Regions from separate parts of the Homo sapiens genome. Here region 1 is linked to region 2. The links are contacts of gene promoters, found by promoter capture Hi-C in blood cells and fetal thymus (Javierre and others, 2016). All regions are on one chromosome and are shown on one strand. The core of a region is centred on a gene start or on the middle of the fragment in contact, and the rest is flanking DNA. Distances in the headings are between cores, read along the strand shown.

Evidence for each region. Contacts are between HindIII fragments. The CHiCAGO score rates a contact against its expected background, and 5 or more counts as called.
Region 1: a fragment that was not itself captured here is called in contact with the fragment with the promoter of PPP4R1 in region 2 in 1 of 17 cell types (neutrophils); the score reaches 6.6 in neutrophils.

Annotation. Positions count from the first base shown.
Region 1 is chr18:9,675,959-9,679,799 of GRCh38, forward strand. It overlaps the pseudogene KRT18P8. Among named protein-coding and RNA genes, the nearest start is that of RAB31, 30 kb to the right of the region's middle. The HindIII fragment of the contact is 6,758 bases long and covers 1-3,841 here.
Region 2 is chr18:9,611,916-9,615,808 of GRCh38, forward strand. It overlaps PPP4R1 (protein phosphatase 4 regulatory subunit 1), which reads right to left and starts at 2,644. Exons shown (of 20, transcript NM_001042388.3): 1 at 2,563-2,644; 2 at 2,311-2,355. The coding sequence starts at 2,569. It overlaps PPP4R1-AS1 (PPP4R1 antisense RNA 1), which reads left to right and starts at 2,892. Exons shown (of 3, transcript NR_110773.1): 1 at 2,892-3,099. RefSeq lists an enhancer at 1,761-1,840 and silencers at 2,111-2,360, 2,461-2,730, 2,831-3,340. The HindIII fragment of the contact is 7,461 bases long and covers 198-3,893 here.

The DNA of each region.
Region 1 (3,841 bases), core at 740-3,239, 63 kb after region 2:
TTGTCAGATATGACTTGCAAATATTTTCTCTGAGTCTGTAGCTTGGCTTTTCATTCACTTAACGCTGTCTTTTGAAGAGCAGAAACTTTAAATGTTAATAAAGTCTAATTTATCAGTTTTTTTTAATAGGTCACGCTTTTGGTGTTATATCTCAAAATCCTTTGATTAACCCAAGATCAGATAGATTTTCTTCTATTGTTTTTCTAGAAGTTTAATACTTTTAGGTTTTGCATTTACATCTGATTCACTTTGAGTAATGTTTTGATTATGGTGTCAGGTATGGAACAAAATTCTTTTTTTTCCATATGGATATCCAGTTGTTTCTTAGGGGGAAAGAATTTAGTCTTTCTATTAAGTATGATGTTAGTTGTCGGTTTTTGAAGATGCCCTTTATCAGGTTGAGGACATTTCCTTCTATTCCTAGTTTGCCAAGAGTTTTTAACAAGAGTGGCCATGATATATTACTACTTGAAAGTGGACTGTGATGGGTTAAATATGTCAAGTTGGTTGATTGTGTTTTTCAAGTCTTCTATACACTTACTTTCTGTTTACTTGTTCTCCCAATTATGGAGAGAGGGTTGTAGAAATCTCTAACTATAATTGTAGATTTGTGAATTTCTCCCTGCAATTTTTAAAATATTTTTTGAGACAGGGTCTCCCTCTGTCGCCCAGACTGCAGTGCAGTAGTGCAATCTTGGCTTACTGCAACCTCCACCTCCCAGGCTCAAGAGATTCTCCTGCCTCAGCCTCCTGAGTAGCTGGGATTACAGGTGCGCACCACTACTGCCTGGCTAATTTTTGTATTTTTAGTAGAGACAGGGTTTCACCATGTTGGCTAGGCTAGTCTTGAACTCCTGACCTCAAGTGATCCACCTGCCTCGGCCTTCCAAAGTGCTGGGATTATAGGCCTGAGCCACTGTGCCCGGCCCTCCCTGCAATTATATCAGTTTTCATTTCATATGTCTTTAAGCTCTGTTACTGTGTGCCTAAACATTTAGCATTATTCTTTTTATGAATTGATGCTTTTATCATTATGAAATGATCTTCTTTTTCCCTGGTAATATTTTATCTGAAATCTGCTTTATCTGGTACTAATATAGCCACTCCATCTTTCTTTTGATTTTCATGGTGTATCTTTCTCCATTATTTTGCTTTTAACTCCTTGTGTTTATATACATAAAGTACTGTCTCTTATAGGCAGCATACAGTTGAATCTTATTGATTTTTTATTTTTTGAGACAGAGTCCTGCTCTGTCCCCCAGGCTGGAGTGCAGTAGCACCATCTTGGCTTACTGCAGCCTCTGCCTCCTGGGTTCAAATGATTCTCCTGCCTCACCCTCCCCAGAAGCTGAAATTATAGGCATGTGCCACCACGCCCAGCTAATTTTTGAATTTTTGGTAGAGATGCGGTTTTGCCATGTTGGCCAGGCTGGTCTTGGACTCCCAACCTCAGGTGATCTGCCCACTTTGGCCTCTCAAAATGCTGGGATTACAGGCGTAAGCCACCATGAAGGGCCTTGAATCTTATTTTTTAATCCAATCTGAAAATCTTTGCCTTTGATTTAGGGTGTTTAGACCATTTACATTTAAAGTAATTGCTGAAATGATTTTATTAATGCTGTCATCTTGCCCTGTTTGGTATTTGACCCATGTTTCTTTATTCCTTTTTTCTTCTCTTCTGTCTTCCTTTGGTTTAGCTGAATACTTTTTATGATTCTGTTTTATCTTCTTTGTTGGCTTATTAGCTATAACTCTTTGTTGTGGTATTTAAGTGATAAACTCTAAATTTTATTTATTTATTTATTTATTTATTGAGACAGGGTCTTACTCTGCCACCCAGGCTGGAGTGCAGTGGTGCTATCTGGGCTCACTGCAACCTCTGTCTCCCACGCTCAAGCTATTCTCATGCCTCAGCCTCTTGAGTAGTTGGGATTACAGGCACCTACCACCATGCCCGGCTAATTTTTGTATTTTTAGTAAACATGAGGTTTCACCTTGTTGGCCAGGCTCAAACTCCTGACCTGAAGTGATCCACCTGCCTTAGCCTCCCAAAGTACTGGAATTACAGGCGTGAGTCACTGTGCCTGGCCAACTCTAAATTTTAGGGTTTATGGTATACATCTTTAACTTATTGCTATCTACCTTTAAGTAATATTATGCTATTCATGTATAGTATTACAATAGTATACTTCCATTTCTTCCTTCTTAGGCTTTTTTTTTTTTTTTTAACTCTGGACTTTTTATTGGCCTCCTGCTCCCCAAAGGGTACCCTGCTGCTGCTGGCTTAATGCCTCAGAACTTTGGTGTCATTGGTCTCAGACACCACTTTGCCATCCACTATCTGGCGGTTGGTGGTCTTTTGGATAGTTTGCATGGAGTTGCTGTTGTCCAGGGCATCACCAAGACTGAAGTCCTTACCATCTTCCAGCAGGCAGCGGTAGGTGGTGATCTCAGCCTCTAGCTTGCCCTTGATGTTCAGCAGGGCCTCTTACTCCTGGGCCTGGCGCTGTCCCTCTGCCCAGGTCTGTGCCAGCTCTGACTCCAGGTGCAGCAAGATCCCGTTGAGCTGTTTCATCTGTAGGGTGTAACGGGCCTCCACCTCCCTCAGGCTGTTCTCCAAGCTGGCCTTCAGATTTCTCATGGAGTCCAGGTCAATCTCCAAGGACTGGACTGTACGTCTCAGCTCCGTGAGTGTCGTGTCGCCTCAAAAGCTCCAACCTTGGCAGACGGCGTTGTGACCACTGTGGTGCTCTTCTCAATCGGCTGAGACCAGTACTTGTCCAGCTCCTTTCGGTTCTTCCGAGCTTGTCATATTGAGCCCAGATGTCTGCCATGATCTTGGCAAAGTCCTGAGATTTGGGGGCATCTACCTCCACGGTCAATCCAGATCTGGCAGTCTGGGCTTGTAGGCCTTTTACTTCCTCTTCATGGTTCTTCTTCATGAAGAGCAGCTCCTCCTTGAGAGCCTCAATCTCTGTCTCCAGCTGCAGCCAAGTGACATTGGTATCATTGATGACCTTGCGGAGCCCATGGATGTCACTCTTCACAGACTGGTGCATGGCCAGTTCTGTCTCATACTTGACTCTAAAGTCATCAACAGCAAGACGGGCATTGTCAATCTGCAGCACGATGCAGGCATTGTCCACGGTATTTGCGAAGATCTGAGCCCTCAGGTCCTCGATAGTCTTGAAGTAACGGCTCCAGTCTCTTGACCTGGGGTCCCTTCTCCAAGTGCTCCCCGATTTTGCTCTCCAGCCTCCGGTTCTTGGTCTCCAGGCTCCTCACTCCATCCAGGTAGGAGGCCAGACAGTCGTTCAGGCTTTGCAAGTTCTCCTTCTCGTTCTGGATGCCTCCCATTCCTGCCAGGCCCCCGGCCATTCCCACAGCCAGGCCCCCGGACCCCATGCCGCCCCAGAAGCTGGAGGAGTGGGACATAGAGATCCGGGAACCAGAGCCCCCGGCACCTGCATAGACGCTGGTCGTGCCTGGACGGAGCCCAGAGACCAGTAGTTGGTGGAGCGAGTGGTGAAGCTCATGCTGTTCCGGGAGGAGGGCGAGAGGACAGGACTCGGGCTTTGCCGAGGACTCCTTCTTAGTTTTAATGCTGCTATTGTCAAACATTTTGTTTTTATGTATGTTATATTTTCTACAATGCATTTTAAATAGTCATTTATCTTTAAAATATATTTAAATAATAACATATTATAAATTTACTCATTTAATGAACCATACATGGTGCTCTTTATTCCTTTGTGTAGATCTGAATTTCTGCCTGTTATCAGGTTTGTTTTTTTTTTTTTAAGTCAAAAGAACTTTTTATTATGGAAAATTTCAGAGTAGA
Region 2 (3,893 bases), core at 1,394-3,893:
CAGGAGAATCACTTGAACCCGGGAGGCAGAGGTTGCGGTGAGCCGAGATCGCGCCATTTTGCACTCCAGCCTGGGCAACAAGAGTGAAACTCCATCTCAAAAAAAAAAAAAATTTAGTTGCGAGCATTGGCAGCATCTTTAAGTACCTTCATTCTGTAAGGTTCAACATCAGTGTTTCCTTCTCTGCTCTTCTTTTAAGCTTCCCTTGCTCTTTTCTCATAACAGCAAACATAATCATAATCATCGCTGTTTACCAGGAATTGTTCCAAGTGCTTCAGAGGCACTAACTCATGTACAGCCTTGAACAACTCTATGAAGTAGGTAATATTTCTTATGCCTACTTACAAATGACAAAACTGAGGCATAGGGAGGTTAAGTGAGTTGCCCAAGTCTGCCCAAAAAGACACTGCTAAGACAAACAGAGCAGCCTGGCTCCAGTGGTAACTGTAATACTGTACTGTACACCTAGATTCAAAACTGCTTGTAAACCACTAGAGGGCATGGGTTGTGCCCATCTTTCTCAAAGCTCCATCCCCAGTACCTGGCAGAGTGTTGAAACTCATGGTTGAATTTTTCACAGGTATGCCTTCCCCTCTACACTGTGCTTCTTGGGGGCTAAGGAAGAAACTGAGACTGCATTTCATCCTTCAGGAGTGAGAAGTTTTTGCTCCAGTCATAAATACTTGCTGAATAAATGAATCTTCTATTTACGAAGTCGAACATAAATATAAAAAGCCCTCCTCGAGGTAACATAATCAGGGCCATTTCTCCAATCCTAACCTGGCAAGAGATCTGAAATCAACAGATGCCTTAAATAATATCTCAAACTTACTATTAGGCAGATAAGTGGCTTAAGGTAAACATTAAATAAAATGTTAAAGCTGCCCTTCACTACATGAGTACTGCTCCCTTTAAGAGAGCTGTTTTGAGCCACCTCACTAAAAACACAGACTTAGCAAAAGTTTGGATGTGGTTCATTTACTTTAAAGATAAATTACTCGTTTCAGATAATCCATCTAAATAGTAAATCCCCCTTACTTTACTCAAAACAACCAGGAATCTAAAAATTAAGTTTACTCTGAGTAAGGGAACCACATTAGACAATGCTAAGGATTAACTACAGAGTATTTAAAAGAGTAATTTCAAACTGCAGCCATCTCTGAAATTACTTATACAGGTACTAGACAGTCAATCTCAGCATCCGGTAGGCTTTCCACTAAACAGACCACAATCCTACTATGGTTATCATCTCAACTCAGAACAATTTCTTGGTCCCTTATGTATCCCATGATCTTCGCTTATATATTTTGCACACTCTGCATTTTTAAAATGCATCTCAAAACCTATTGATTTTTTGATGGGTCGCTATTTTGGAAGATTAGCAAGAATAGAAACTATTTTAAGTTAACTGCAATTTGTCACTTCTTTCAATACAAACCTGCTTAACTCTTTTGTCTTTTCTATCGTGACCCAAATTATTTTCTGAGGCTTAGAAAAGTACATATAAGACGAAAAATTCCTTTCTAAATATCAATTCCGTCGCCATCAGGAAATGTCAGAAACTTTGTCTTTTTAAAAATAAAAGCGTCAACTCTTTAAAAACTTCAGTACCTCAAAGGAAAGCTGCACTGTTAACACTGAAGGAGGGCTGGGTGATTTCTGAACATCCGCATTAAAGAAATATGCTCTCCAAACCTAGTAATTCCTGCGGAGGCCACACCTTCTAACCTTCTCGTAATCCACTAATCAAATCGGGAGCATCTGAAAACTGCTACCAGCCAAAGTAAAATGACAGGTATGTCATCCTCAAACAATCCAAAACCGGGTCGGGGAGCCCAGACGGCTAGCCGGGGCCCAGGCTGACCCCCGGGCGCTCCTGGAAGAGCGACTCTAAGGAAACACACCTCCCGCGCGAGCCTCTTCCTTCCTAGAGTGACGGGGGAAGGGGACACCAGGGGCAGAAACACACCCAAACCCCACTTCAAATCCTGCCCCACCGCTTCTCCTTCCAAAACAGCCGCGCCACTGCTGAGCCCGCAGGCGATTCGGGGGCGCCGGGAGAAGAGAGCGAAGGGCGGAAAGCGAACTTGGGCGTTACTCCGGGCGTCTCCCTCCCCCAGCGGAACCTGGGCGCGCCGTTTCCTCACGGACGCGAGATTTTCCCCCCCGATCGCCACCCCAGCCCGCCTGGGGCCGCCCTCGCCCACCGTCCCCTCAGCCAGCCAGGGCCCGGCCCAGGCCTCGCCGCCGCCCGCCCTCCCCGGCCGCTCCCCGCGGACTGCCAGGCCACCGCGAGGCCGGGCCACTCACATCCGTCTGCGTCCTCCTGCAGGTCCTCCTGAAGCAGCGAGAGGTCTGCGCCGAGGGGAGAGAAGAAAGGCCCGGTCAGCGCCCCGGGGCCCGGCGCGACGCCCCCCCCCCGCCCGCCTCCCCCCCGCCCCGGGGGCGCCTTCCCGCGCCGGGACCCCACGCCGGCCCCGGCCCGGCAGCCACTCAGGGCTGCGGCGGAGGGCGGGTGGGCTCGAGGAGCCGCCGCCGCCCGGAGAACAGGGGGCCACGTACCCGCCATCTTGTGGTCGCCCCCTCCTCCGCGGCCGCCCGGGGAGCCGGGGCTACATGGAGCGGCGCGAGCCGGGGAGCCGGTGGACGCGCGCGGGAGGGGCGGCGGGGAGGAGGAGGGCCGGGCTGGCGGGGGCGCGCGCGCGGGGCGGGCCGAGGGCCCGGGCCTGCCGCGGGCGGCGCGGCTCCCGGCCGCCCGGGCCCCCGGCCGCGCCCCGCCCCGCCCCGCCTGCCCCTCCGCGCGGCTCCCGGGCGACCGGCGCTCCCGCCTCCCGCCTTTCCCGCTGCTTGCCGGGTCCCGGCCCGGCGACGCGCGCTCACACCCTCCTCCCGAGCCGCCCTCACGCCGAGCGCTGCGGACGGGGGCGCGCAACCTGCCGCCGGCCGGGACCCTGCGGCGAGTGCCGGAACCCGGCCGGGCGGGGCCTCCCGCGGCCCGGCCGCTTTATTGGGTCACCGGCCTCGCCCACCGCCCTGCCAGCCGCAGCCATCTCGGCGGGCGCGCCGCTCGCAGCCAGCGCCCCATCCCCAGGCCTGCACGTACGTCGTCGGCGATCCGGGGCCGGGGGCGGCTCCGAGGTCGTCGGGGCCGGGGTCCCACCTCCTCTTGGAGGAAGCGCCGCCTCCCCACCCGCCCGGGGCCCTCGCCAAGTGGCTGCTAACAAAGCCCAGGGCCCGGCTGCGGGATGGTTGACTGACAAAGTCATGCCTGCCTAGCCAGCTTCCTCGTGCAGCACGGTGAAGGCTGGGGCGCCGGGTTTTTACTCCCACGTCCTGCCAACTCGAGCTGACAAGGCGGGCAATCCACCAGCGGGAGCGTTGGCAGGCCCGGGGTCAGATCCTGATTCAGCCAGTTAATTGGTAGGAGTGGGGCCCATTTGTAGAATGAAGGTGATAACTGCCTCGTGGGGTTATTGGCATTAAATGAAGAATGTAGGGAACCTAGCATGGTTCTTGATGTCTAGGAGGTGCTCGGTGAAGGGTGCCTATGATTCGCTTTGTCTTCTAAATACTTTTGGCAGCACTTGAGGTGTTAAAGTCTGTATCCCAGACTTTATTAGTCTTGTTGTTTTACGTGACTTAAGCGATTAGCTCAAACGCCCAAGTACAAAATGGGGCTAAACCCAGGTTTTCCGACACGATTCTACCTCCATGGCTCTATCTCCAGCTCCACCCAAGGCCTCCAAAATGGTGTTCTCCTAAAGTGACCAACAAAACACCAAGCTGTGTCATGGTGCCACTTTGGCGATGTGGTCTCTTAGGAGAGGGAATTCTAAGTAGTTAATTAGCTTGTTCCTTTCTACGTTGTAGTCTTGACCAAGGACAATGTGTTG